5 separate regions of the Homo sapiens genome follow, and all the other regions are linked to region 3. Evidence: promoter capture Hi-C in 16 types of primary human blood cells and fetal thymus (Javierre and others, 2016). All regions are on one chromosome and are shown on one strand. Each heading gives the region's core, a stretch centred on a gene start or on the middle of the fragment in contact. The rest is flanking DNA. Distances are from core to core; before and after follow the strand shown.

The links. The method cuts DNA at HindIII sites, captures the fragments that hold promoters and counts their contacts. A CHiCAGO score of 5 or more calls a contact.
Region 1: a contact is called between a fragment that was not itself captured here and the fragment with the promoter of CHIC2 in region 3, in 2 of 17 cell types (total B cells and total CD4 T cells). The highest score is 6.0, in total B cells.
Region 2: a fragment that was not itself captured here is called in contact with the fragment with the promoter of CHIC2 in region 3 in 1 of 17 cell types (endothelial precursors); the score reaches 6.0 in endothelial precursors.
Region 4: a fragment that was not itself captured here is called in contact with the fragment with the promoter of CHIC2 in region 3 in 1 of 17 cell types (total CD8 T cells); the score reaches 7.4 in total CD8 T cells.
Region 5: a fragment that was not itself captured here is called in contact with the fragment with the promoter of CHIC2 in region 3 in 1 of 17 cell types (total B cells); the score reaches 7.1 in total B cells.

The regions. Positions count from the first base shown.
Region 1 is chr4:53,349,249-53,353,899 of GRCh38, forward strand. It overlaps SCFD2 (sec1 family domain containing 2), which reads right to left. Exons shown (of 9, transcript NM_152540.4): 2 at 3,350-3,518. Among named protein-coding and RNA genes, the nearest start is that of SCFD2, 14 kb to the right of the region's middle. The HindIII fragment of the contact is 1,219 bases long and covers 1,893-3,111 here.
Region 2 is chr4:53,100,178-53,104,570 of GRCh38, forward strand. The region is part of intron 5 of SCFD2 (sec1 family domain containing 2); the gene reads right to left. Among named protein-coding and RNA genes, the nearest start is that of SCFD2-AS1, 180 kb to the left of the region's middle. The HindIII fragment of the contact is 847 bases long and covers 1,688-2,534 here.
Region 3 is chr4:54,061,567-54,066,077 of GRCh38, forward strand. It overlaps CHIC2 (cysteine rich hydrophobic domain 2), which reads right to left and starts at 3,039. Exons shown (of 6, transcript NM_012110.4): 1 at 2,616-3,039. The coding sequence starts at 2,734. RefSeq lists an enhancer at 2,447-2,947 and silencers at 2,747-2,876, 3,107-3,346. The HindIII fragment of the contact is 3,181 bases long and covers 1,863-4,511 here.
Region 4 is chr4:53,387,646-53,392,473 of GRCh38, forward strand. It overlaps FIP1L1 (factor interacting with PAPOLA and CPSF1), which reads left to right. Exons shown (of 18, transcript NM_030917.4): 6 at 2,164-2,228; 7 at 2,876-2,983; 8 at 3,364-3,494; 9 at 3,785-3,853. Among named protein-coding and RNA genes, the nearest start is that of FIP1L1, 12 kb to the left of the region's middle. The HindIII fragment of the contact is 1,298 bases long and covers 2,118-3,415 here.
Region 5 is chr4:53,185,337-53,190,184 of GRCh38, forward strand. All of the region lies in intron 4 of SCFD2 (sec1 family domain containing 2), which reads right to left. Among named protein-coding and RNA genes, the nearest start is that of SCFD2, 180 kb to the right of the region's middle. The HindIII fragment of the contact is 216 bases long and covers 1,763-1,978 here.

The sequences.
Region 1 (4,651 bases), core at 1,252-3,751, 710 kb before region 3:
GAGGTGTAAAAAATGTGTCATGAAGACTTTGTCTGCAAGTGATAGAAAACAGCAACTAAATTTGGCTTAAACAACAGGAAATATATTCTCCCATACAACATGACGTCCAAACATCGTGCATCAAGGAGCTTATAGCTGCTCCTCTCTGCAGTTCTCTTGGCAAGGCCACCTTCCACGTGTTAGCATTAACTTCCAGATGTGAGCAAGATAGCTGCAGCAGTTATCAGACTCAATATGTCTGACATATTGGTCACATCTGGAAGAATATTTCTATTGAGTCTCTTGTCAGTAGCAAAGAAACCTGACCAAGAAGCCCTAAGACTTTCTCTCTTGTCACTTGCCCATTTCTAAAGCATCACTGCCAAGGGAAATGAGATTCCAAGATTGGCTTAGCCTTGGTCTAAGCTTGTAATAGAATCAGTGCTGGGGAGTCAAGGTTAAATAAAGTGACTATAATCAAAACATTACTTATAGGACTGAAATACTTTTATACCTATGTTTGTTCTACTACACTTCTAAAAATTTGCTTCTTTACCTCTGTCCAATGATGGGCTCTTCTTTCTTTTAGCAAACTCCTCTGGGGAGCTTACTTATTTTTTTGGTAATTACCTTAGGTTTCTGTGGAAGTGGCACAGGGTAATGGTAAACACTAATTTTAGAGCCAGGCTGCCTGGGTTCAAATATAGGCCTCCACCAAGTCTAACTGTATGCGTTACCTTAGGCATGTTATTTAACTTCCTTCGTCTTCTATAAACGGGGACGCTAAGAGAATCCACCTCATAGAGATATTGTGAGAAGTACGTAAGTTAATATGTATTAAGTGCTCAGAATGATGCCTGTTACACAAAAGGTCCTCTGTAAGTGTGTGCTATTACTAAGGGGCATCTACTATTTTTGCATGTCCAGCATCTGTTCCCCCATCTTCTGATAAGTGTTTCCATTTTCCTTTGAAGAACCACCCCTCCGCCATGCCATATGATATTAGCATAATTCTAGTCAGTATAAACAGCTCCCAACCCACACTGGGCAAAAGGTGGGCACAATGGCCAAGAAAAGTCAGTCTTACCATTTCCCCCAGAATCTGAATCTTAAGGAGAAGGACTCAAAGAAAACAGTTAAAATTCAGTCTCTCTAATGTCAATGCCTTAAACAGGTTTTTCCTGAGCCTCTGCTTCCTATATTCCTAGAACTATTTTGTCCTTTCAAAAATCTGATTAATAATCCTTCCTTTCATTCTTTTAGCTACCCAATACCCTTTAAAAACCCTTTATTGCTTAAATTAGCCAAAATTGATTTCCATTGTTTGTATAATCACTATGTTGAAAACATAGGACTCCCAAATTAACTCAAAGAGTAACTTTATTTTTGTCTGTCATCTCTTTAAATCTATTCAAGAGCCTAGCTCTTCTCTGGACCCTTCACATAGATAGCATAGAAGTTAAGACAGTGGCTCAAAAGTCAAACTTTTTCTTTTTTCCTGAAATGGAGTCTCATTCTGTTGCCCAGGCTGGAGTGCTATGGCACAATCTTGGCTCACTGCAACCTCCTCCTCCCAGGTTCAAGATACTCTCGTGCCTCAGCCTCCTGAGTAGCTGGGATTACAGGCACCTGCCACCATGCCCAGCTAATTTTTGTATTTTTAGTAGAGACAGGGTTTCACCACGTTGGCCATGTTGGTCTCAAACTCCTGACCTCAGGTGATCCACCAGCCTCAGCCTCCCAAAGTGCTGGGATTACAGGCATAAGCCATTGTACCTGGCCTAAAGTCAAACATTCTGGACTCATTTCTAGCTCTACCTCCCACGAACTCTGTTACTTAATGTCTCTTTGCCTCAGTTTCCTTACCAATAAAATAGGGGAATAACAACATCTACCTCATTAGGATACTGTAAAGCTTAATTTCCCAAACGTAAAATGCTTGGAAGTGTATCTAGCTCATCATAACTCCCAAAAAATGTGAACAGAGCAGATGACAGAAGTGGTCCAATGAGGTCATCTCTCACTGACGTCAGGCCCTGACCATTTTTTGTTTCTATACTTTGGTTCACATCAACCCCCTCCTCTTTTCTAAGTCATTCAAGACATAATTAAAGCAGTGCCACTTCCTCAAGGTCTACATTGATCTACAAAGACTACATTAACCTGATACTTGTAGAAATTATACTCCATAGCAGATACATTAATCTTAACTTCATATCATTTCTATTCTTTTCAAATTATGCTTGGGTATAAATCATGACTCCCCAACAAAAAGAGTGTTTGAATAATAATATATTATTTTATGTCGTTCCTGTTAGTTAACCTAGAGTAAGGCTCACAGTTAAGTCCTTAATAATTAACTTCTGAATGGCTCTCTGAACAGTTAAATGTGTTTCCAATCACATTACTTCTGGGTTTGTAGAGCTGCAAGCCTTTAGGCCTATGCTTTTATTGTATGTGTAAACACACCAAATGGACAAAAGTCTAGAACTTCCCATTTTCTTCCCACATTGACCCACAAACATTGGGTATCCAATAAGTATTCTTAAATATCTACAAAAAGGCTAAAAACTTCAGGAGCTACATATACTAATTATATTAATAAATATGGGAGGAAATTCCAAATGCATCTGCTACAGTGAAGATTTAAAACTATAATACTGAAAGATCCTGTTTTATTTAAAAATATAAAACATGAAAATAAAAAACAGATACACTTACATACTTTTTTCCCTTCTAATACTTTTATTTTTTCAAACAAGAGTAATTCCCAAGAGAATTGTTAATGAAGGACAAAGTTGAGAAAGTGACTATCATATATTTTCATTGTCATTTCTGGAGAAATTCTTATTTTTTAAACTCTGCATAACAACGTACATAATCTTCTCTCTTTGATTCCTCTAAGCATGTGAAAAAAAATATACTTAGAAATAAAAACTTCTGTTGATATCCACAGGTATATCATCTAATATAAAAAGATGGCATGGTTTCATTGCTGTTTGAGTTGCTTTTTAGTGATGTGAAAAAGTCAACTGGGAAAAAGAAACTGAGGAAGACTAGACTCAATTCCATGTGAAACTATCTGTGAAATGGAGATACATAAACTGATTCACTTAACCAATCCTGGGAACAAGCTTATATTACATGTAAATGACAGTTCTATAAAATTCCATACTTTCTGGATTATTATGTTTAGTGGATGTGGTTATTTCAAAATTAAGAAAAAATGCTTTTTGCTAAATGCTACCCACTGTGAAATTTTCAACCAGACCAATTCTTCATTGCTTTTTTCCTATGGGAATACTCAGTCTAGGAGAAAAAGAAAGGGGAAGACAGAGAAAGATAAGATGACAAAAACTATATATCTTACCTGGATTGTGAAAGACAGCCTGGTGCAACCACATTATAATTTTCCTCCTCAGTATGGAGTGCAGTGAGCGCTATCATGTTAACCATCACATCATTTGTGTGGCCTGGGAGCTGGGGAAGTGCTGAAATGATCTTCTCTACTAAGTTGTCTCCATGATGTCCAACTGCTCCTGTTTAAGCAGACAAGATGATGTAAATTCATAAAATGGGAGGAAAAAGCAAGTTGGATAAATGTTTTATCACACACCTTCTATCAAAAATAACATACATTTTTAGTTTCTGTTCAACAAAACTCACATTTTGCCCTTCATACAGCTAATCACATTCACAATCACCTAGTCAACATGTACCTCACAGGTTGTAATTAAGGCTCCATGAGGGCAGAACTCATGTCTGCTGTGGCTAGTACTGTATCCCTAGCACCTAGCGTGTCTGGAATTGGTGAGTTCTTGGTCTTGCTGACTTCAAGAATGAAGCCGCAGACCCTCAACGGTGAGTGTTACAGTTCTTAAAGATGGTGTGTCCGGAGTTTGTTCCTTCTGATGTTCGGACATGTTCAGAGTTTCTTCCTTCTGGTGGGTTCGTGGTCTCGCTGGCTTCAGGAGTGAAGCTGCAGACCTTCGCGGTGAGTGTTACAGCTCTTAAGGCAGCGCGTCTGGAGTTGTTCGTTCCTCTCCTCTGGGGTTGTTCATCCCTCCCAGTGGGTTCGTGGTCTCACTGGCCTTAGGAGTGAAGCTGCAGACCTTCACCATGAGTGTTACAGCTCATAAAGGCATGCACGGACCCAAACAGTGAGTAGCAGCAATATTTATTGCAGAGAGCAAATGAACAAAGCTCCAACAGTGTGGTAAGGGACCCAACCAGGTTGCCACTGCTGTCTCGGGCAGCCTCCTTTTATTCCCTTATCTGACCCCACCCACATCCTGCTGAGTGGTCCGTTTTACAGAGAGCTAATTGGTCCATTTACAGAGAGCTGATTGGTCCATTTTGCAGAGAGCTGAGTGGTCCATTTTGACAGGGTGCTGATTGGTGCATTTACAAACCTTGAGCTAGACACAGAGTGCTGATTGGTGCATTTACAATCCTTTAGCTAGACACGAAAGTTTTCCAAGTCCCCACTAGATTAGCTAGACACAGAGCACTGATTGGTGCATTTACAAACCTTGAGCTAGACACAGGGTGCTGATTGGTGCATTTACAATCCTTCAGCTAGACACAACTTTCTTCAAGTCCCCACTAGATTAGCTAGACACAGAGCACTGATTGGTGCATTTACCAACCTTGAGCTAGACACAGGGTGCTG
Region 2 (4,393 bases), core at 861-3,360, 960 kb before region 3:
AATTAAATTGCCAACATTTACTACCTGGTTGAACTTGGGCAAGTTATTTAATTTGCCTCAGTTCTCTCATCTGTTCAATGTAGGATAATAATAGCAACTACTTACTAGGGCTTCTAAGAAGAATAAATACCTTGTTTATAATAGTGTCTGGCACCTAGTGATGGTCCTGAAGTCAATAATCAGAAGTACCATCATAGTTATGAAATACTAAATAAATTATACAAACAAAAAATAAATGTGTACACATGCATGTGTGCATATGTGAATGAATGGATAGAAATGGTTTCATAACGTGATTATTTAATTAGCCATAAGAACCACTTCCTATCCACGCTAGATAGCAAAATTACATTACCTTTGTTAAATTAGGTGTTGAAAGGTCATTAGTTCTATATTACAAATTCTTATTATTAAAAAGTTGCTTTTATAACTATTCCAACAAAGCGTACTGTAAGAATAAAATCTGGAGCAGGAAAGAATGAACAGACACATAAGGCTCCCTATGGAATCAGCCCAAACCCAGTAAGTGTTCAAGATTACAGAAACTGAATTTCTGGCTTTACTTCAGCATTATTCTGGGTCCCAAAAATTTGCTTTCTTTTTAAGTATTTTTCAGTATCTCTTTTTTAGTGAATGTAGGATATAACCAACGTTAGAAGTAAATTGTAAAAAATGGTTTGCAAGTTTTCATTAAAATCTCATGACTATGCAAATACTCAGAATTTTTGCATAAATAATCACCACGACCCCCAAATGATGTTTTCGAATGAATCATGCAAACCCACAGTTGAGAGATTAAGTATAAAAAAAGACAGATATCCACCTCTGGCACAACTTCAAATGCGTCGATGGAGACAGAAAAATGTCAAACACAAAGATTACATGAAGCACTGCAGCTTCCATGGACAGGGAAGAAACTACCAATACTTTCTGTATGGTAAAATACTTAAACACACTTCAGCTTTCATGCATTATAAAGAGGATTGACTTGTAGAAACTCAGGACCAGTGGCTTTATGGATCTGCAACAGGGACCCCTATGCTGTATATGAACCTAGTCAAAGAGCTGCACTTCCAAATGCTGACATACTGCTAAGGAGATTGGGGCTTCTCTCTGGTCCTGTTCCTCTCTTTGACTCTTTGACTCTCTTTGATTCAAAGAGCAACTCAGAGTTTTCAGAATGATATTCTAATTTGATAGTAGTTGATCTTTTAAATTCTAGATAGTGAAGGGTTCCAGTAGATTCTAGTTAACAGTAATGTGTGAAGTTTAAAATGTATCTGCTGATAGAGAGGAAATTACTCATGGAAGAAATATCTCTGATGCATAACACACAGTCTGGCTGTACTGAGATAGTTGTTTCAAATGGAAAAGAATGCAGTTGGTAGTGCTTTTAATCAGAACTTTAAGAACCACTGGGTGACTTAAAAGATATAATGGTAGAGAAAAACCTCATTTGCAACAACAATGGAAAAAAGAGATAATACTTGGAAATAAACTCCAAATGTTTCAAACCTATAGGACCAACACTTTAATAAAACACTCTGCAAAACACAAATGTAGACTTGAACAAATGGAAAGACATTCCTGGTTCTTGATTAGGATGTCTCAATGTCATCAAAAGATGTTTGTACTCACTAAGTCAATTTATAAATTTTGTGACATCCCAATTAAAAAAAAACCAATAAGCTTTTTCTCCCCTGGGAAATAAACAAATGAACTTTACTACACATGAATTTTCACATGAAACAATAGCCAAAAGAGAATATCAAGAAAAACAATGAAAAGAAAGAGTTGTGAGGAGATAACAGCCACATCAGATATTAAAACCTACCACAAAATCTGTATAAGTAAAACGGTGTGGTCCTGGAACATGAATGCACATGCAAATCAATGAAGCAGAACAGCAAGTCCAGCAAAAGACCTGACCACAGGTGGAAATTATTCTAGTATATGATACAGGTGCAACTCAAAATGCTGGGGCAGCAAAGAACATTTTAATAAGTGCTGTTGGGACAATTGGAAAGCCATTTCCAAAAGATAAATTTTCATCCATTCCTCATGTCATCCAGTAAGCACAAACTTCAAATAGATCAGATTTTTAATAAGTAAAAGTATACAAGTAATTTTTGATGGATAAATTCCTCTATAATTCCTCTATAATCTGAGGGTAGAAAAGGCCTTCTGTGACTAAAAATCCAGATGCAGTTTTTAAAAATTGACATATTTGACTAAAAAAAATTGAATGGCAAAAACACCATAAGCAAAATGATAGGACAAATAAATTAGAAGAAAATATTTGCAAATAATATAAAGAACTAATATTCATAATTTATAAAGAACTTTTAAAAGTTGATGAAAGGAGATCAAAAGTACTCTAGAAAATGGGCAAAAGACAGGAATAGAAAATACACAAAAAAGATATAAAATTACATTAAAATATGAAAATATGTTCAATTTTACATAAAAGGAAAATTCATATTAAAATTATATTGAAAACAATTTCTCATCCATCAGTTTGACAAAAAAACAAAAGCTTGTTGGTGAGGCTGAAGAAAAACAGGCCCATTTTTATACATGATTTTCAGGAAGGCAAAAGGGTGTAAATCTTATGTAGGGGAATTTCACAATGTCTAACAAAAATATAGGAACCAGCTTGCAGGAGCTCTTACTTGACAAATGTAAAACAATAAGGTACCCAAATTCATTCATTACAACTCATTGAATTAAGAATCCATGAGTCTATACTTATAATAAATAAATACATACATACATAGGCAGACAGCTGGAGAGAAGGAAAGGCTCTTCCTTCTGGTAGAATGTCAACTGATGAGTGCAGGGTGTAATGGAATTGAAAATCACCCTTTACAACCATCACTGTAAGATTGTGGGAAGAATCAATGGGGAAAAGTTTGATGAGAAGCAGGATGTTTGTATGGTCTCAAAGAAAATGACCACACATTGCTTATTTCTTGCAAGGGAGAACATAATAAATATAAATCAATGTCTTGACTGGGTGATCAAAATTAACATAACTGAAGGGAGATGATTAGCAAAGGGCTCTGGATATAACACCCCAAGAAGGCTACATTACTTAGTATTGTGGGTGAGTAGGGGTTGGGAGTCTGAACTGAATCTAAACAAATAAATGGATGGAGAATTATGGGAGCCAAGTTTTTCACTGTTGGTGTGGAAGTGTGCAGATGAACAAGGACATAAGGCTATAATCCATCTATTCACACAGAATGCTCCACCTGGTAATGGATTACAGCTGAAGACATTAGTATAAACAAATGTTTAGCTTAATCTGGATATAGAATGTTTCATAAAAATATTTATAGATATCTATATTTTCATGGTTTTTATATATATTATATATAAATATATATATAATTTTCTTGCTCTGTCAACTAAGAGGATGTAGAAGAACAATGACATTCCAGTAGCAATGAGCATATCTAGTACCAGATCTTGATTTTCAATATCCTCCAGTGAAAGGAAGCAGGGTTCCCTGAAGAAATAGCTGATTCTAGGACAAAGGCAGGAAATATACATGAGTCTGGGTCTTGTAGTTCCAGAAAGTAAGGAAGTAAAAAAAAAAAAAAAAAAAAAAGGCATGGGGTAGGGGATGGGAGAAAAGAAAAAAAAATGCCGTAAGGGTTGACAACACAGATGCCACTGAAAGAGCTCCCAATGGCCAAAGCTGGAACAATATGAGCTAAAAAAAAAAAAAAAAAAAGAAAATGACGTATTGGAGTATAACCCAAAATACAAAATAAATATGTATCAGTCCATACTGATATAAATAAATAATTGATTAAGTAAATAAAGGGAGAAGAGAAAACTATCTTGTGCAGAAGAATTCCTAATAATTATGCTGAGGTTTTATAGATGTTATGTATGTATATTGCCTTCAAGGAGGTGGAGCATAACTCCTTATTTATTAAGTGTGGGCTACTTCCTAAAGAGTTGAGTATGAAAGCAGGAGTAGTGGGGGAAGAGTAATTGTACAGTAGAGAAAACTGAAAAATGCTTCTTCAGCCAGGTGATAAAGGTCAACATCATGTCAATGGTATATACTCTTGATACGATGTAATGAAAATGACACTTTACCTCTGCAGTCTTTCTCCCCAAAATTTATATCACCAATCTAATAATGAGAAAAACATCAGACTCATCCCAGCTAAGAGCATACAAAATGCTAAATAGTGTTCCTCAATACTGTCATGGTCACCAAAAATAAAGAAAGTCTAAGAAACTGCCATAACCAAGAGAAGCCAAAGGTGACGTGATGAGTAAATGTAATATGGCACCCTGGATGGAATCCTAGAACAGAATAAGGATATTAGGTAGAAACTAAGGAAATCTTTAAAAAGTCCACACTTTAGTTAAT
Region 3 (4,511 bases), core at 1,789-4,288:
ACAACTGTTCTAATAGCTCTTCCCATTTATATTTAAAGCAAGAAAAATTGAATGTGCTCAACAGTTATAGTAATACATATGCACCAATTCTAAAAACCTTTATAGATGTTAACTGGGCTACCCACTGGCATGGTGTGCTAGTGTGCCTGGGAATTATGCATGACAGAGCCATGTTAAAAAAAAAAGTTTTCTATTATTACCTATGTCGCCACAAAACAGGTTAAGTTTTCAATGCAGAAAGATCCTTATTGTCATCAAAATACTTCAAACACAGTAATTTAAGCACATACACATTGCTTAGAAATGGAAAAATAAGACTAAGGTGAATCATTGTTATGTTTGATAATGGCAGTTCTAATTTTTTAGTACTTTGTTTTACACCTGTTTCTCAAAGTGGAAAACTATATCTGAGGAGGAGAATAATAAAAACTAGTATCTATTGAACATAGTACCACACAGTGCAATAAATTCTTTTCATGTACTATCTCATTTAATCCTTAATAATCTTAAAAGGTATCGACTATAACTATCCCCATCTCAACTAAAGGTCATGAATAAACAATTTATCCAGGAAGTAGCTGAGATAGATTTTAACCCAGAGCCTAGAACCAAGATAAATGGGAGAAGAAGGAAGTTGCTGAGGAAAATCAGAGATTTAACTCACAATGTAGAAAGGCATACTGTTTATTGATGATAGATAGTCCCTCCCTATAACCTGGAATAGTTTTCAATCTTGGCTACACATTAGAATCACCTGTGAGATTTTATTTATTTATTTATTTATTTATTTATTATTTTAACTGTCCACTCCTAGGACCCTCACTTAGTATTTGGCCTTCAACTGGCCTGGGGTGGAGCAAAGACAATGGTCTTTTTTTAAAGACACCCAGGATTCTAATGGACAGCTAAGTTTGAAAACCACTAATAATTATTTTCTACCCTATTAACCTCTCCACGTAGCCAACTACAATCAAGTTTACTGATTACCTAGGTTCTGAGCACTTTGCCCACTATTGCATTTTCCACTTGCCCAACAAAGTGCTTAGCTTTTCTTCTCCTTAACAGAGGAAACATTACAACTACAGCGTCGCCTTTTTAAATGACAAAATTCTCTAGCTTTTCTTTGACATGAGGAATGTAGAAGGAGGGATAGATGGCATGACAAAGTTTGGAAATCACTTCTTTAAGCATCCACATACTCCTTAGGCTTAAAACAGTGCAAAAAGGTCCTAAAAGTCAAAATAAAATCAAATGGCAGGTTATGAATTCTGTGATATATGTTAAAAGTTTAATATCCATGATATTTGGTTATACTTCTTAAGCTGGTGACAACACTTAGAAAGTATTATTGTGGTGAATTAAATTCCACTGTCTTGTCATGGTGCTGTGATGGCAATTATGCAGTGTTTTTACCCTGTTAAGTCACCTGAACATAAACTAACAGGTACTAAAGAAATTAAAGCATTACATAAGCATACTCAAACAACAATATGGCTGGTCATACGAGAAATGCAATTATTTTGCTGACAAACTTATATGAGAAGTCTTACTGTTTCCCTAAGTTATTCACAGCACATCCCACTCACTCTTCACCAAAATATAATGAAGACTATTCCAGACATTCTCAGACTTGCTGGCTCTTTTGTTTCACTGAAAAGGTGAAGAAGTACAGAGATACCTGACAAGTATGGAAGTCTGATCTATTATTTGAACAAGAGATCTAAAATGAGAGAGTATCAATGTAATACATCAAGTGGTACAAAACTGTGGACTTCATAGTGAAACATTACAAAACTTCCTGCTTCCGGACAGCTCATTATTTGGTTCAAGGCTTCACATTCCTTTGTCATGGTCTTTCCGAAAGCTTTCATTCCTTATTAATATCAGACTTTTAATGTTACTAGTGGGACTTTCCAAATTAACAAGCCCCAAGTTCGTGCCCCAAGGAGGAGCTTCAGGACTACAATTTTCCCTCAGTAACCTGAGCAGAGTGTATGTCCCTCACGTAGTTGTTGTTGTTGTTGTTGTAAACATATTTCTTTCTGTATATCTTAAATTTGTGTTCAACTATATATTTTTATCACGTACAATTACAAGAACTTGCATTAGTTCTGCGGAAATTAGTGGAAAAACTGGGAGACCTGTGGGTATGTGTGAAATAGACACGAAACGGAGCTTCGCTGCCAATTGTCACTGGGGTCTCACACGGCCCAGATCTGGCCTCTGAGCCATGTCACTGGGTGCAAAGGCACAGACAACCACAGGGTAACTGGGCGAGAAAACAAGGAGGCTCCCTGTCAATACACGTACTTCCACCCTGAAGAGGAAGGGTGGCCCGCAGGGCAGACCCTAATGAAAACCCGTGCCTACTGGGATCGTCACATCGCCCGGGCCTGTAGGGCCTGCTAAAGGGGTGTGTGGAGGAGGAAGGACAGCGTCCGTCCCCACTTCGGAGACCCAAACAAATGAAAATAAGCCAAGTTCTCACTTCCTGGTTGCCTACTCTTTCGGAAGGCCCCCGACACCAGACGGACACAGGGGAAACGGGGCTCCCGTGGAGTAACGGGGCCCACCCCAGCCCGCACCTCCCGCCCTCGCCCTCCTCCGGGCCTTACACGGTGACGTGACCGGAGCCGCGGACGACCACCGGGTCCGGCGAGTACTTGAGCAGCTGCTCCTCCAGGGCCCGCTCCTCGTCCTCCTCTTCCTCATAGATTTCGTCGAAATCCGCCATCCTGAGCCTCCGAGCTCCCCTGCCCAAAGGGCCTGACTCCCGGGGTTGGCGCCGGGGTACCGGCGGGCGAGGCGGCGGAGGCTGAGGGGAGTCGCCGCTGCCGCCGGCTCCGAGGCCGCGGAGTTCGCTGTCGGCTGTCTCGGCTCCGGCTACAGAGGGGATGGGGTCTGGACCGTCGCCGCCACCGCCGCCGCCATTACCATCAGCAATAACAACAACACAATGTCAACATCCGCCCAGAGGCCGACACCTCCACAAGCACAGACGCCGCTGCCGCCGCCGCAGCAGCAGCAACTCAGGAAACCACAGCAACAGCCCGAGCCACCCGCAGCGGGAGCAGCCGGCTACGGCATCGCGAGACTTCCCGGGCCAACGGGCGGGCGGGCGCGTGCGTGGGCGCGTGGGCGAGCGGACTGGCTGGCGGGCGGGCGGGCGCGCGCACGTGCGGCCTCGCGCGCTCCCAGGCCACCGTCTTTCCTCTGCTTCTACCCGCAGACGGCGACCGGGGCGCGCGCTCCCGCCGGCGGGCCCCCCTCCGCCGACTTCTGGGTGGCGGACCCTGGGGGCGGCGGCTCCGCTGACTGGAGGCCGCGACCCGCGACTCCGACAACGCAGCTTGGAATGTCCAGTGGGACATGCAGTTCCCCAAAGTCATCTCTAACCAAAACAAACAACTGAAAAGAAAAGCCCTGGCTGGAATAGACACATTTTTGTGCGTGTCATTGCCAGTTTATCTAATAATCGCATCTCGCTTTTCCTCAGGTTTTGAGTCTATGATGAGAACCAGAGTCTCTTTTTTCCCAATTTGAGGAGTCCAGCAGAGACACTGCAAACATTTGTGCTCACCACAGGATTTTTCAAGACATCTCCAAATTCAAACATCTTATCCCTTGATCCCCTTAAGTATAATCCAATATATGAGGCCAGCGATGCTGGTATTTTTTTTTTTTTCTTACAAGAAATCTCACCGTAGTCATGCTATGAAAAAAAACTGATAAATTACCTGGATTCCATATTAGAAGATGCAGTTTCTTGCCCCAACTCTCTCACCAAACATAACCTGGTTTTTGTTGTTGTTTCCTTAAAATCTTAGGGAATTCCTTTCCTTTTCTTACCAGTTCCTACCACAAAAAAGACCTGAAAGAAAGGGCAGAGGAGAGGAAGAAAAGGAGGCAGGAAGGAAGAAAGGATAGAAGGAAGGACGAGAAGAATGAAAGAAGAATGGGAGAGAAAGAAAGAAGGGGAGGAAGGAAGGAAAAGGTTTAATGGAGTCTACTTAGCTGCCTAGTAACAGTTGAACGGTCACTTTGGGTACTTGGTTTCATTAAGCATATAAACAGCACAGGGGAAGGAGTGGGCTTCTGAGAAGAGAGTCCTGGACAGTGAGGATACACCATGGGAGAAGAAAGGATAGTTCTACTGAGCCCAGCGCTGGTCAGGCTCTTCAAGTGCAGTGTTCATGTCACAGTAGTCGGCTTTAGATGGGTCACTGTTGACGTGGAGAAAGTGCAAAGGAGGTCAATGAGGACAGTGAGAGATGCCAACCTCCTTTTGGAAACAACTGAAGGAAATGAGTGTGGTTAGCCAAGAAAAAATGAAGGAAAAATACAGTAGTTGTATCAGACTTATTGTATCCCTCCCTGGAGGGTATTTGTTCATTCAACAAATATCTACTGAACTCTAGCTATGTGGCAGGCACTGTGGACGTGTGTGAATGAGGCACAGGCCCTGACTTCTGGTAGCTTATCTATTGTTAAGGCAAGCAATTGTCATCTCT
Region 4 (4,828 bases), core at 1,517-4,016, 670 kb before region 3:
ATGGGGAATAGAAAGTAGCTAGGTGGAAAGCGAAGAAGCTCATTTATTGAACACTTGTGGCTAAGCCTTTTATAAAAATACTGTTTTATTCTATACGGTCCTGTAAGAGAACAGTTTAGAGAAAATCCTTGATTTTTGTACATTTGTAGAAAAATCATGTACATCATATGTAGATACCGCTAAGTCACTTTTTCTGAATTTGGATTGTTAAAATGTAAACATCGTGAAGGCAGGAACCGTAATTGTCCAGCTCCTCATACTTTTTCCTCAGCCTAGAACCATACTTGACATGGTTTGGTGCTCAGTAAGCATTACATGAATTAATCAGCCTATGAAATGATTATTTCAAGTTGGTGACGATAGTACTGCTTGACAGTAGTAATATTTGGTCCACTTTGTAATTTTTGCATTTCTAGCTGTGGAGCTACAGTTATTTGATACAATTAAACATTTTATTGAATTTACATTTTTCTTTTTTAAGTAGAAAAGAAAAGTGACAGTGCAAATGTAACTAAACCTAAGTCTTAAATGTAGTACATCAGAGACAAAAGATGGAAGTAATTATTATTAGACCCAAAGCAGTGAATCTGAAGTCCAGATGGCTGAAGTTCTGAGAGAAAAGAACCAAATATATAACATGAATATAATGTGAGAAATATATCATTATAAACATCTGTGACTTGAGGTCTTACTGATATCTTTTTTTTTTTTTGAGATAGAGTCTCGCTCTTTTGCCCAGGCTGGAGTGCAGTGGCGCGATCTCACTGCAAGCTCCGCCTCCTGGGTTCACGCCATTCTCATGCCTCAGCCTCCTGAGTAGCTGGGATTACAGGCGCCCACCCCCATGCCTGGCTAGTTTTTTCTATTTTTTAGTGGAGACGGGGTTTCATGGTGTTAGCCAGGATGGTCTTGATCTCCTGACCTCGTGATCCACCCGCCTCGGCCTCCCAAAGTGCTGGGATTACAGGCGTGAGCCGCCGTGCCCGGCCGTCTTACTGATATGTTTTTGTTCAGTGGGAGTTGGTCCTTCTTTGCCCATTCCCGTTTTCTTCTAACTTCCCTAGTAACAGAAAAGTCTCTTTTAATTAGTATATTTGATAATACTACTCATATATAAGAATCCATTATATAAAGAAGTAAAGAACTGTCTGTAACCCCGTATTACAGAAAATGTATACAAGGCTCATTTATACAAGTAAAAATGCAATGAATTATTCAAATAATTGTATACAAGTCTTAGGTGTTTTGGCCAAGATTACACAACTAGCAATTGACAAAACATTTGAATGTGGGTTGGTCCAACTTCAGATATTTTTTTCTTTATCACTGTGTATTATATTACATCTAAAAAGGTGCAGCTTAATATTTTTTCAAATATATACATTCATGTAACTACAGCCAGATCAAGATATGAAACATAATTGGCATCCTAGAAGTTTCTCTCATTTTGCCTCTTGGTCATTAACCACCCACCACCGGCAAACACTGTTCTGCTTTCATGCTAGACTTATTTTTGAATTTCTTGTCAATAAATTTCTGTTATGGACTGAGTACTCCATGAATAGTTGAAAAAGGATTTATTAACAATATCAAATGCAAGAAGAACTGAAAGGCCACTAGATTTGACAACAAGTTGGAGGAATTTTACTTATGCTTAAGAGTGCTGTATATTTAATAACTGGGAGGCAAGGAAATGAAGACAAGGGGTGTAAACTATTTTTCCCTTCTTAGCCTTATTTCTTGTGAAGTTTGTTACAGTAGAATGTTGAGTTATTGGCAAAAAGGTTTTTGAAATGGAAACAAGTCAGGCTTTTTTTTTTTACTGTTTTTGCCTTTTATTGAGCAAGTGACTTTAAAAATCAGTTTAAAATGTTTTTTAAAATATGTGTTAGCTGGGCACGGTGGCTCACTCTTGTAATCTCAGCATTTTGGGAAGCCAAGGTGGGAGGATTGCTTGAGCTCTGGAGTTCGAGACCAGCCTGGACAACATGGTATGAGATCTCATCTATACAAAATTTAAAAAATAAAGATAGAAATAAAATGTGTGTCACACTATCCATTTACTATGTGATTGTATAATTTGTTTGTACAAATGGAATATATTACTGTTTTGTTTAAGCTTTTCAGGATAATTTCTGTTTTTTTTTGTTTGTTTGTTTTTAGGAGTTATGGTACAGCACCTGTAAATCTTAACATCAAGACAGGGGGAAGAGTTTATGGAACTACAGGTAAAATTTGTATTTTCTGTTGCATCAATAGGGAAATAAGGCACATATCTTAAATAGGTCTTAATAGCTTTTTTTTTTAGTCGGGGACAGAGTCTGGCTCTGTCACTCAGGCTGGAGTACAGTGGCGCAATCTTAGTTCACTGCAACCTCCGTCTCCTGGGCTCAAACCATCCTCCCACTTCACCTTCTCAAGTAGCTGGGACTGCGGGCGTGCACCACCATGCTTGGCCAATTTTTGTATTTTTATGTAGAGACCAGGTCTCACCATGTTGTTCAGGCTGCTCTTGAACTTTCGAGCTTAAGTGATCTACCTGCCTTGGCCTCCCAGAGTGTTGGGATTCCATGTGTGAGCCACTGCGCCCGGCCAAGGTGATAATAGCTCTTTTTAAAGAGTAATTTTTGACCGTACATCACAGAGACTGGTAAAGTTTTTCTGGCAAGAGTCCAGTAGCACGTATTTTAGGCTCTGCTTTGTTTGGAACCCTTGCCAGGTTTTTTGCCAGGAATAGTAAAAAGATGTTTGTTTTCTGTTTGTGTGTGTATATGTGCCAGGAATAGTAAAAAGGTGTTTATATTTTCTGTTTGTCTATGGTATCGCCTGGCTTCTTGCAAGTATAGCTCCTTCATTTTGTAATTTTATAAAACAGGGACAAAAGTCAAAGGAGTAGACCTTGATGCACCTGGAAGCATTAATGGAGTTCCACTCTTAGAGGTAGATTTGGATTCTTTTGAAGATAAACCATGGCGTAAACCTGGTAAGATTATTGTGGATTATATTAATTTCAATATTTTCAGTGTGAAGTCATCAGAAAATTTTTTTGAACATCAATTTAGAATTTTATTTTTTCATTATAATTTTAATTGTCTTAAGCAAATGATGAGTAATAATGACTTGGGATTATTAAATCTTACTGGTGGCCTTGTATTACTTAAAATGTAGACTTATTGTTTATTATAATGGCGTTTGTAAAGGGAATAATTTGATCAAAAATGATATAGTCTTTTTGCCACCATAAATGATAGAGTGATAACTGATAGAACTCTAAATTTATATTTTTATAGTTTAGTATATTTTTGATGCTGCATAAAAATAGAGCTGAAATATTTGTACACTAAAGTTGTGTTTTATCTTTAGGTGCTGATCTTTCTGATTATTTTAATTATGGGTTTAATGAAGATACCTGGAAAGCTTACTGTGAAAAACAAAAGAGGATACGAATGGGACTTGAAGTTATACCAGTAACCTCTACTACAAATAAAATTACGGTAATTAATAAATACTCCGGAATACCCTTGGCTTGTCTACCGTCCCACTTTTACTCCCCAAATAAATCGCTTCCCTATAAAAGTGGTTAAATGCTATATGATAGTTTAAAAATTCCATTTTGTTTACCATGTTTGTTTTTCCCTTCCCTCCCTTTTAGAGTTTCGTATTTAATGATTATCTGATGTTCTTACTTTCAAATCACAGACTAGCCACAGCTAGTTTGTCTTTATATGGCCTATTAATTAAATATTATGTGGTATCTTAATGGGGAATATGTTATTTAACTTAGGCCGAAGACTGTACTATGGAAGTTACACCAGGTGCAGAGATCCAAGATGGCAGATTCAATCTTTTTAAGGTGAATTTTAGTAAATTATCCTTGGTTGCTCTCATTTTTTGTTCTTGAGTCTGCTCCCATGCCACTACTCAAGGGACAAGATTAAAGTGGAAATAGCTACCTTTTTTCCAAACCTTCAGCTTCCTGGTGACTTACAAATTTGCTGATTGTTGTTTTATCTCCACTTTTGCAAGCATGTGAATTTATAGCCTATTATACTAACAAATGCCGAGTAAAACTATTGTTTGCTATATGTTGTGATTTCATTTTGAGTCGTAATACATGTTTGTAGGATAGAAAAGTTAGTGGCAACAGATTATGCTCTCATTGTAGATAATACTCTAATCTTTATCAACAGAATTGGAAACTTTTTTGTTCTCTTTAAAAAAATGGTAAGGAAGGTGGCATACTGTTTATCTCTATGACACTTATAACACTGATATCATTGGTGTAATGCCCTGATAGCTCAAGATATCTTCAAAAATCTTAGGCATTCTCTGAGAGGCTTTAAGAACTCAACATAATGAGATACTGCCATTGATTTTAAAAATTTGTTCTTAAAAGGAGTAGGTTTATGTGAGAGACTTTGAGGTTGATACTACAACTTGTATAACAAGTCTGATTTCTGGCTTCTCCATTCCATGGTATGATCACAGACCCAGTCCAAAGAATAATACTATATTGTCATAGTTCTTTTATGGAAAACTGATTGTGTACTCTTTTTTCTTTACCTTAATAGTTGACTCTTATATTGAATGACACTGGGATGAAGATTGGGAGTGGCTTTTAGATTGGGTTGTATACTCAGGGAACTTTAGTGGACTGGAAAGAGACCACTGCTCCCCTTTTGGGTTTGCAGCCCTGTCCACCAGAATACTGCCTTATGCAGTGTGTGTGCTATGTCTGCAGATACAACCACTCTACTGTACACAGTTCTATATAGATAATTTTATTTTAATTTACATCCTACTTTGCGTAAGTATTTGGTTCTTCTTT
Region 5 (4,848 bases), core at 621-3,120, 880 kb before region 3:
GAATAGGAAACTAACATTTTAGATATATTACAGAAGTAAGTAACTCTTAGCTGCTTTGAATTATAATAATAATTATAACGCATTTATTTCATTTCAAGTGGCACTCCATTATGCTATATAGTGCTGCTCTTAAAATTCTATTGTAGACTCCAAGCTTCCTGCTTCCTAGTCTCTCATGTTGACTGTTGTTCCCTGGCAGGGTCCTACCAGCAACCAAGAGAAACCTGCAAGTCCCCAAAACAGCAAAAGTATCAAATATAATTTTTTAAAACTCTTTTTATTATCTAAATTAAGCTGGAATTACTCTATTAAGTTACCAAGAGTAATAAAAGGCATACCCATAACATATATATCACTGTTTGAAGATATTTAAATTTAACTGTGATTACAATCTTTAACTAAGGCTCTCAGACTCTCTTAAACCTCTTTCTAAGGTTAATTAGTAGCCAATGAACAATTTTCAAAATAAAAGCATAATATATAAAAGTTAATAAAACTGGCTCCAAGTTAATTAAATTTATTTTCCTTCAGAAATATCCTGCCCTCCTTGAGATGCAACATGGATAACTTTGTGAAAACAGTGAAATGTACAATTCAGCAACTACTAACACAAAAAAATCAAAGGGATATTCTGCTTCGTAAGTAAAAATCTACAGGGTAGGCCTTATTCTACAGTCAGCACTTTTCTAACTTTTGTTCAAGTTGTGATCATGAAAACAGTGCTTAACATTGACTTAGGTCTTGACTGCATGCCAGGTAGTGTCTCACACGCTTCACATGTATGAACTCACTTGATCTTTATGACAGTCCTATAAGATGGTGCTATTATTATCCCAGTTTTAGAGTCTGAGTCTTTCCCACCCTTCAAGATCTGGTTTAAATTTCACTTCCTCACAAATCCTTCCTTAATTATTTCCCAATTCATATTATATTCTACCTCCCCCTTTTCCCACTATATTATGTGTATCTCTTACGGGACTTACCATAGTTCCCCCTAAAGCTCTTTATGAATGCTTCTCTTTCTTGTCATTACATCACAAGTTTCTGGGGAGGCAGACTCTGTCTTACTCACTTTTGTATTCCTACAATGCTTGGCAGAGATTCTTGCACGAAGAACATGTCCAGAAAATGTTTGTTGAACTTACTTATACTAGCATTAATATGGGAAAAAAGGAAGAAAGGAATTTAGCAGCAGCTCTAAAAACAAAGAAAGAGTCATGAATAAAAAGCAACAAGCAGTTATTCTGTTTCTGCAGATGACAGAACAAAAGAGATCCCAGAGATCATGAGATAAAACATTTAAATATTAGGTAAACATTAAACCATAATTATACTGAAAGAAAATACAGGTGAATGGTTACAAAATCTTTAGAGGTAGAAGGCCTAAATAGGACACCAAGAGCAAAATCAAGCAAGAGAAGAATTAAATAAATGTTCAAGGGAGCCAGCTCTGAGTTAGGCTACATGGTTTTGATTCCCAATTTGCTGTTTGTAGAGTCAGTTTATTCAACCGTAAAATGGGGATGATGACAATATCTGACTTACACGGTTGCACAGTGGAATGAAGGAGATAATGACTATCAGGCTCTCAACACAACGCATGACATAATGTCTTCCATAAACATTTCAAAACAAACCAATTAAGGAAAAGATAGAGTTGACTGTAAAAAGAAAAAAGCATTTATGCTATAAAAGTATCAATCAAGTCAATCAGTATCAAATGACAAACAGAAAAAAAAATTACTGTCATAAATACATGAAAAGCTTGTACAAATTAATAAGATTAAAACTCCAGTAGAAAAGAAAGGAAAGCCGAGCTCAGCATTTCACAAAACATTAATATATACAAATGAGAAAAACATGAGAAAACACACCTTATTTAAGAAATTAGAAAGTATTCATTAAATTTTTCTTCTTATTAAATCAGCAATATTGACAATGCTGTGAAGCAATGGACAGCATAGAGAGTCTTGTGGAAAGCTTAAATTGGCATATTTCTGAGGGCACTTTGCCAATAACCATCAAAAGCCTTAAAATGTGCATACCTTCCTAAAAATGCATAATTATTATACATCCATAAAAATCTAAAAAAAGAAAAAAGTACATATGTTATGACCTAGGAAATTGAGGCATTTATACCAAGGAAATAATCACTGATATGCACAAAGATGTAAACTGCAGCCTTGTTTATAAGAGTGAAAAACTAGACATAACCTAGTGATCTAACAATGAGACTAGTTAGTAAACTAAATACCTTTACAAAACTGACTGCTGTGATCTTGTGGGAGATACTTAATGCCATAAATGAAACAAATATGATATAACAGCTTATTATATGGTCCCATTTTCATTAAAACAACAACAATAACAAAATGTGTGTAGGTATGAGTGTGTGTATATACACACACAAGAAAGATCTGAAAGGAAAGATATCAAAATGCTAACACTGATTATCTCCAGGTAATAAAATTATAGATGACTTTGGAAAACCATAACATTTTCTAAATTCTTTATGATAAACATATCTTCATAATTAACAAAATAAAAATTATCTTTCCAAAAGGAAAAATTAAACATCAAGAGATATTCTTGCCCATTGTTCAGGTAGAATATATCTTTAATTGTGGCTGCACTGTGCTCCTTATAAAAGTCATACAGTAATGAGCTTCAGCCCACAGGTTCTATTGGTACAGAAACAGCTCAAGCAGTTTAGCAGAAAAATTCAATCAAATACAAAAAACAACTCAAGGGAACATCCTATGCTTAATGGTTAAATGGCAATAGAAAAAAAGACAAATAACTAAGCAGTACTGGATAAAGCTAAAACCTTAATCTCATGCTTACTCAGCAGCAAAAAGAAAAAGCAAAGCAAACATTAATTATGGAAGATTTAGTGATCTGTATGGTTATAGTTGTAGAAACACTTCCAATCTGTGTTTACCCACGCTGTAACTCATTGCTTTCTGCAAATTTAAAGAAACCTTTTGCCTGACAGTTCAAATGCTTGGTTACAGCTAAGGGAACAATAGTTCAACCACTTTGAAAATAGGCTAGAGGACAAAGTCCTCACACTTCAAAACTGGTGTGTGTGTGTGTGTGTGTGTGTGTGTGTGTGTGTGTGTGTGTGTTTAGTGGCTTTCCAACTTCATAATAAATCTACGAAAGGGCCAACTTCATAAGGGAGCCAGTCTGAATACAAATATATTTAGCCCCATCCTCCCTACATGGCAAGGAAGGAGCAGGCACATCACTATGTAACTAGATTGCACGTTCATTCATTCTTAACGACTGTTACCAAAGATTCCCAAAGTAAACAGTAGTGAAAGCCATGGTATTACAGTATTGAAAGCAATCTATTAACTCATGCCTTTTCAAAACCAATGAGAGAATAGACCTAGTTGAAAATTCTTAATTCCATCTAGTAAGATAAATCTTGAACACAAAATGCTAGAAAAAAGGGCGGGGAGGTCTAAGTACATAACTGTTTAAATTGTCTATCCAGTCTATCCCAAATGCAGTGCTCACTTGTTTTTTTCCTGCCCAGCATCCATTGCCCCTTCTCTGAATAATAGCACCCAGTTTTTATTTAGGGGACTCTCCCATTTTGGTTCATATGATCACCTCCATTTCCAAACTTCAGGAACTGACAGGTAACTCAGGAATGCTCATGCAATGTATTCATTCCCCTAGACAGAATAAATATTCATCAAGCACATAGCCCAAGCTAGTCCCACTGGTGACAAGAATTATCAGCCTTAAAACTTTTCTCTAAGCTCCTGGGAAAGAAGCACGTTCCTTTTGCTGGAGTTTCATGCTGAAAGAATGTAAGCTATTGCTGTTGGGCACAGCTTTGCCATCACTTGGAAAGAGGATATCTAAAAACAAAACAGTAAAAAAGTGAGTAGGATTAAAAAACAAAGAAAAACAGATTCCTGATAAACTATTTTTAAAAGCTGGATCCAAACATGCCTGAAGCTATTCATCACCATCTGATTTAGATTCTGTCACATGAGACTAAAAGGAGACAATAAATATGGGGGAAAGGAAAGTTAGATGGTTGTCCCTTCCCTCCCCAGTTGATCTACCTGTCTTGGTCAGCATGGGTTACTATAACAAAATATCATGGACTGGGTAGCTTAAACAAGACATTTCTTAGCTTGCAAACTTCGCTTCCTTCTTGGCTGTATCCTTGCATGGCGGGGCCTGAGAGAGCAGTAAGGGAGGAATTCTCTAATTTCTTCTTATAAGGGTACTAATCCCATTATAAGGACCCCACCCTCATGACCTCATCTAAACTTAATTACCTCTCAAAGGCCCCACCTCCAAATACCATCACATTGGAGCTTAGGGCTTCAACATAGGGATTTGGAAGAGACACAAACATTCAGTGCATAGCACTACCTAAATTGCTTTTAGACACACACAAAATAGACTGGAGGAGGTTACTCTATGCTACCTCCAAGCAGATCTGTGTGACTGTCATTGTACTAGAATACATCACCAGAATATTGGCTACATCCTTAAGTGTATATCACTGCTTACTCCAAAGCCTAACCCAGTGCCTAGAACACAACATCACCCAATAAATTTTTGCTGAAAAATGAATACGTGAATTAACTAATCTTTTGGGACTTATTTTCAATACAAACTAAACAATAACATGAATGCTATAATAAAGATATCAGTAACATGATATGAAAATACACAGAAAGGTCTAACTCTATATTGGAAACCAGATAATCTGGAGTCACATTCCAATATTTAACTGATCTGAATCCCTCCTGAAACAGTCAATGTATCTCCTCATCTTCTCCTTAGCCTTATCTTCAACAGGCACAAAATACTTTA